Regions from separate parts of the Homo sapiens genome. Here region 2 is linked to region 1. Evidence: promoter capture Hi-C in human tissues and cell types (Jung and others, 2019). All regions are on one chromosome and are shown on one strand. Each heading gives the region's core, a stretch centred on a gene start or on the middle of the fragment in contact. The rest is flanking DNA. Distances are from core to core; before and after follow the strand shown.

Region 1 (3,322 bases), core at 377-2,876:
TTATGTGTACCTACTATTTTGGGACACAAGGGTATTAAAAACCATGTACTCAAGGGCTGATATTTAATAAAATTAATAATTTTTACTGCCGTATCAAAGATGTTCTTAAGTGAGGCTGGCTTTTTTTTTCTTTCTTTTTTTTAATCTATGACTACTGGTGCAGTTGGTACCTCTACCTTGATTAGTGTTAAAGAGCTTGCAGTTTGACCCACTGTTGATTTTGCACCATGGGTACAAATGTGAACACGGAAGAAGGCAAATTATGTCCTAGTATTATGATGAAAGTAGAGTCTTTTGCTGGGACTTGATGCTACAGGCCAGTAGTTCTCAAAGCCTGGTTCCCTGCCCAGCAGCATTAGCATCTCTTGGGAGCTTATTAGAAATGCGAACACCTGGGCCCTTCCCTTCCCTTTCAGTGTCCAGTTCCTGTGGGATGGGGCTGGGCCGCTTCAGCTGCCCCAGGAGACTGAGAGAGTCTGCTGAATTTGAGAAAGTCCACTCTGCTTTCTGGAAGGACTGGCGGGGCGGGAGGGCAGGGAGGATGAGTAAGTTAGGGACAGAGTGTTCTCGTGTTTGTAGAGGATGTGATGCAGCCTGGACTTCAGGCAGTAGGAAGAAGATGGAATGGATTTGCTAGAGACAGATTCTCTAGAACTTTATTGCTGGTAGACCACATAAAAGCTTAGAAAACAGCTGCGCTTTGCTCCGAGACCTGCCAGCCATCAGGGACGAATGAGTTTTAAAGGCCCTTACTGCTTTGTGTCTTGAGGGAATATCTTTTATTAATCGTGAAAAAATCAATCCAGATAACTTGCCTGAGTCATTTCAGTCTCCTTTTTGAGGATGCCTGCTTAAACAGCGACCATGGTCTCTGGAGGGGTAGAGTCTCACATTCGGAGTTCAGTCTCTTAGAAAGTACAGTTCAGTGTGGAAGAATGGCAGTTATGATTTCATTCAGATGTGCCCAGCTGCTGACAAATTGAATACAACGATCAGTGGCAGGCAGAACTCTCATTTGTTGTGTGTTGTCTTGAGTCTGGTGAGGTGTATCCTTTCACTATTGGATTTTACCATTCAGTGCAGTCAGTAGCTCCATTTGATGTAAGTGTAAAGATGGGTCTCTCATTTCAGTTTCAGCAATTATTCTTAAAACCTTTATTTTCCAGTGTTTTAAAGTTTTTAAATTTTATATCTTTTTTTTTTTTTAAACAGATTTGTAAGACTCCAGGGCCTCCCAGCCGTGAATAATCTGATGGTTCCTGAAATGACTGGGGAAGCAGACGCTTCGTATGGCAGTTGAAGAGTGTGTGTCTATGTGCATTTAAAACCTTCTTTCTGTACTTACACATTCACACGGGAAGACAGGCTCATTCTTGTGCACACTTGAGAGTTTTACAACTGATGAAAATTAATTTAAGAATCAGATGGAGCAACTTGACACCAGTGGGCTCAGGAGCCCGGGGAGAAAAATACATCACTAATGGCCAGTTTTCCATATGGTCTGCACGGGTAAAGAAAGTCTGCAAAAAGAAGAAAAAAAAATTTGCGCAGATTAAACCACAAAAATATTCTCCAGTTTAAAGAAGGAACTAAGTGAGAAGGTGACTGAGAAAGAAGTGTGATTTCAAACATTGCAGCGGCTCACACAGTGTTTGTTGCACTTTATTTTTCAGTGGGTTTGGTGATTTGGACGGATTAAAATTCTAGACTGAAAAGTAACTCCTACTGTGGTTATGGCTAGAGGAAAGCAAGTTCAAGTATGATGGGACAAGTTTGAATAATGAACTGATTCCTTTGCCTATCTTAATTAACTGTATTTGAGAAATTTTAATTTATTATTCCCCCCCTTTTTTCCTGCATCTATAGGATAATATTGTAAAATAGCAATTGAAACCAATAATTATTAAATAAATATCAAGGAAAATCCAAGCAAAGCTTTCTTTTTGTTGGACTAGTGGTGTGGTGTTTGGAGACAGTCTCTGAATGTGAACAGGAAAGCACCCATCAGCAAAACACTATCACTCTCTAGGGAGACAGCTGGGGGAATCTGACTCTGGCTTCTGCTTTTGTTTTAAGGGATTAACTTCCCTGTCAAGTCCAAGAAGACTTGCGTATGAGAAGATTACCTGATGGACTTAATTCTAAGATTAGCTTTTTTCATCAAGATGGAAAAAGATCTTTAGGAGCAGAAAAGGGGAGTGCTAACTGGGGGAGCGAGAAGGGAGACGAGCAAAAGAAACAAAATCTTGCCACGTGGCTCTGTTTTGTCAGCAAGAGGATTTAAGACTCACCCAGGGCAAACACTGGGACCACTGTAAGAGCGCTGGAACATTCTGCCTCTTGAGTGAAGGGGCCTTCTTTCTAGCCTCTATGGCACTGAGGGGTGCGCCGGCTGGTGGAGGAGCAGTCCGATGGAGCCCTGCGTTCCCCGGGGACACAGGGCCAAGCTTTGAGGTGGAAAGTTTCTGGTTCTGAAACAACAAGGAGAGAGTCTGTTTTTCTTCCTAAAATTTGGACTCTTGTCTGCACAAACTCTGGTCTGTTTTGCACGGTTTGTGTGCCTTTTTTTCCCTTTATGCAATCTTTTTCAGCTTTAGCAGCAGAAATTTGTCTAGTTCAGGAAACATGCTAGAGGGTGGCTTCAGAAGGAAGATGATCCTGTGTATTCTGTCTCTGCATCCGAACTTTTGAAGAGAAAAATTCGAGCTAGAGGGATTCTTAAAGCCTTAAGTTACTTGAAATCTATGTATTTGCAACCCTTTGTCTCTGGAATCATATTACACTAAACTGGAATCTCAGGCTGAATGAGAATAACCAAGTGGAGTAAAAAGAAGAAAACCGTTTCTTGATCACCACTTAATTAACGATGCTCTTTCTCCAAAGGATCAGCACGTTCTTCCTCTGAGAACTTGAAAATACAAATGGACCCCATGTTTTTTTAAGCATTACCTTTTCTTAGAAGACTGCCATCATCTTTTATAGAGGAATTTTTTCACTATGCATTCGGTGGATCTTTATAAAATACTGACCTTCTAATTAGATTCAGGTCAGTCTTAATTAAAGGGGGAAAAAAGCAACGCAAGCCAACCACAAAAACACATATACCAATGAAAGAAATTGGTTTAAATTTCACAGCATTAACATTACTTTTTAAGTAAAACAGTTCATTGAAGAAAGTATGTATGCAGCAGTGGAACATGGGCCTGTGCTTTGCAGCGATTCCAACATCCTGTGCCTGTCCTGGAAGGGGCGTGTCCCCAAGAGTGAGAAGGAGAAGCCTGTGTGCAGGAGACGCTACTATGAGGAAGGCTGGCTGGCCACG
Region 2 (3,322 bases), core at 259-2,758, 110 kb after region 1:
CCATTGACATACTCAGACATTTTAACGACAGTCAGCAAAGATGTAGATGATCTGAGCAACACAATTAACAAGCTTGACCTAAAGGACATTTATAGGTTCTTAATTCACCAATTAGACAACATACTTTTTTCTCAAACACAGAAGGGTTATAAAAATTGATCATATTCTAGGGCAGGATTCTGCAAACCTTTTCTGTGAAGGGTCAGATAGTAAATATTTTAGGTTTTGTGGACAAGGAGCCAAAATTGAGGATATTATATAGGTATCATATAACAAGAGGAAAATCAGATTTCCAAAAGATTTTTATTGACAAAATTTAAAATTTGATTTATGAACACTGAAATTTGAATTTTATGTAATTTCAAATAACAAAATATCATTCTTCTTTTGATTTTTTTCTTCTCAACCACTTAAAACCATTCTCAGTTTGTGGGCCATACAAAAATAGGTGACAGGTCAGATTTGGCTCACAGGCCATAGCTTGCCAATCCCTGTTCTACGACTTAAATAAAAAACAGATTTCCAGTGTCAGGCATGATGATTATAGACCACGATCTCTGAACACAGTGCAACTGGGTTAGAAGTTAATAACGACGAGATAAGAGATCCCTGTCTGTTTTTTGTTTTGTTTTGTTTTCTGACCGAGTTTCATTCTTGTTGCCTAGGCTGGAGTGCAATGGCGCCATCTCGGCTCACTGCAATCCTTGCCTCCCGGGTTCAAGCGATTCTCCTGTCTCAGCCTCCAGAGTAGCTGGGATTACAGGCACCCGCCACTACACCTGGCTAATTTTTGTTTTTTTTTAGTAGAGACGAGGTTTCACCATGTTGGCCAGGTGGGTCTCAAACTCCTGACCTCAGGTGATCCACCTTCCACATCCTCCCAAAGTGCTGGGACTACAGGCGTGAGCCACCTCGCCCGGCCTATTTAGGCATTTTAAAATATATTGTTAAATAGCTCATGGTTTACAGAATATGTTTAATAGACATTTATAAAATCCTAGATCTAAATTATAATGAAAACATGTCAACAAAGCGTCGAACTCTGTAAAATATTTGAAGAGATTTATTCTGAGCCAAACATGAGTGACCATGGCCCATGACACAGCCCTCAGGAAGTCCTGAGAACATGTGCCCAAAGTGGTCGGGCCGCAGTTTGGTTTTTATACACTTTGGAGAGGCGTGAGACATTAATCAAATACATTTAAGAAATGCATTGGTGGCCGGGCGCGGTGGCTCACGCCTGTAATCCCAGCACTTTGGGAGGCTGAGGTGGGCGGATCACGAGGTCAAGAGATCAAGACCATCCTGGCTAACACGGTGAAACCCTGTGTCTACTAAAAATACAAAAAAATTAGCCAGGCGTGGTGGCACGCGCCTGTAGTCCCAGCTACTCGGGAGGCTGAGGCAGGAGAATGGCGTGAACCCGGGAGGCGGAGCTTGCAGTGAGCCGAGATCGCGCCACTGCACTCCAGCCTGGGCCACAGAGCGGGGCTCCGTCTCAAAAAAAAAAAAAGAAATACATTGGTTTGGTCCAGAAAGGCAGAACAACTCAAAGGGGTCCGGGAGGTTCCAGGCTATGGTGAATTTAAATATTTTCTAGTTGACAATTGGTTGAGTTTGTCTGAAGACCCGGGATTGATAGAAAGATAATGTTCAGGTTAAAATAAAATTTTGTGCAGCCCAAAGTTCTTTTGCAGTCTTATAGTGGCTGTCCTTAGAGACAGTAGGATGACAAATGTTTCCTATTCAGATTTTAGGTAGTCTCTTTAGAATTGGGAGGGTCTGGAATCAAAAGATCTAGCGATGTTAATAGAGATTCTTTACAGATGCAAATTTTTCCCCACAAAGAACAGCTTTGTAGGGCCATTTCAAAATATGGCAAAGAAGCACGTTTTGGGGTAAAATATTTTTATTTTCTTGTCTTGTAATGTTACGCCAGAGTGAGGTTGGAAAGTAAATCATGATATATAGTGTTAAATAAAACCCAACCTATGTGATGAGAGTTTATGATTTGTAGGGCATGACTCCCCAGACCCCTTAGATAGGAATTTGGGCAAGGTAAAAGAATAAGAATTTAGTCCTTCATTGTATACCGGAATTTGTGAGATATGATTAAAGTGGTGCTGTGAGAGAAATGTATATCCTTAATTACTTATATTAGCAATAAAACTGTGATCATTGGTCAGATAGGTATTTATCTTAAAATATTATTAATTGAAAAGGAGAGTAAATCCAATGAAAGAAAAAGTAAGAAATAATAAAAATGAAAGTGAAAATTAGTACAATAGGGAAAAATGATAAGGTAGAGATCAACAAATCCAAAAATTAGTTCTTTGGAAACAAATCAACAAAATAGACAGATGTCTTGCAAAACTGATCAAGAGAAGAACACAGAAATAAACAATTTTATGAATGAAAAATTGGGCATAGCTATAAATAGAGATTACAAGGTAACCAAACGTAAATTATAAGATGCAGGTAGTTCAATGGGGGAAAGGTAAATCTTTTCAACAAATGGTGCTGAAACAACTGAATATCTGTATTTTTTAAAAAGAAAACCTTGATTCTTACCTCACACCGTGCATAAAAATTAACTCTAGATGAATCAGAGATAAGTGATACGGCTCCAGTGAGTGGAGGAACACCAGGGTTCTTAATTCTCAGGCCAGTTTAGACAAAACACGGACACATGTGGAGCGGTTTTAAGGAGCGGAGAGTTTAATAGACAAGAAGGAAGCGGAAGGCAGAAGGAAGAGGCTCCCCCATACAGAGATAGAGGGAGAGGAGGCTCCAAAGCCGAAAGAGGAGGTCCCCAAGTGCGGTGGATACCAGCCAGGTCTATATGCAGAGGCTGAAGGAGGCGATGTCAGATTTGCATAGGGCTCAGGGGATTGGTTTGACCAGGCATGTGATTCACCATGTAGCCTGCGGAAAACGCTGGCCCTCCCACCCCAGCCTTTAAATATGCAAATGCAGGACGCCAAGGATGTTCCACACACGTGGGGATATGTGGGGGCGGCCATGTTGCCAGGAACACCTGGGACAAGGGCCGGAAGGCGCCCGAATCGCCATGTTGGATGGACCCAGTTTCTAATGGTCTGCATTTGCATATCAAAGGTTGCTAGCCTGGCTCTAAGAAACTTACAGGCTCACGCCTGTAATCCAAGCTCTCAGGGAGGCAGAGGCCGGAGGATAGCTTGAGCCCAGGAAGTGGAGACCTGCCTGGGCAATACAGCAAGACCCCTTCCTCCACAAAAAAGAGGGGGGGGGGGGGAAAGAAACCTTCCCAGGACCCCTTTTCCTCTCTATCTGCCTACAATAA

Evidence for each region. Contacts are between HindIII fragments. The study calls those that stand out against the background at their distance.
Region 2: a contact is called between a fragment that was not itself captured here and the fragment with the promoter of TULP4 in region 1, in 4 of the 25 tissues and cell types used here (dorsolateral prefrontal cortex, hippocampus, mesenchymal stem cells and 1 more).

What each region holds. Positions count from the first base shown.
Region 1 is chr6:158,310,839-158,314,160 of GRCh38, forward strand. It overlaps TULP4 (TUB like protein 4), which reads left to right and starts at 1,627. Exons shown (of 14, transcript NM_020245.5): 1 at 1,627-3,322. The coding sequence starts at 3,179. RefSeq lists an enhancer at 3,251-3,322. The HindIII fragment of the contact is 2,154 bases long and covers 38-2,191 here.
Region 2 is chr6:158,419,862-158,423,183 of GRCh38, forward strand. All of the region lies in intron 2 of TULP4 (TUB like protein 4), which reads left to right. Among named protein-coding and RNA genes, the nearest start is that of SNORA116, 99 kb to the left of the region's middle. The HindIII fragment of the contact is 7,401 bases long and covers 1-3,322 here.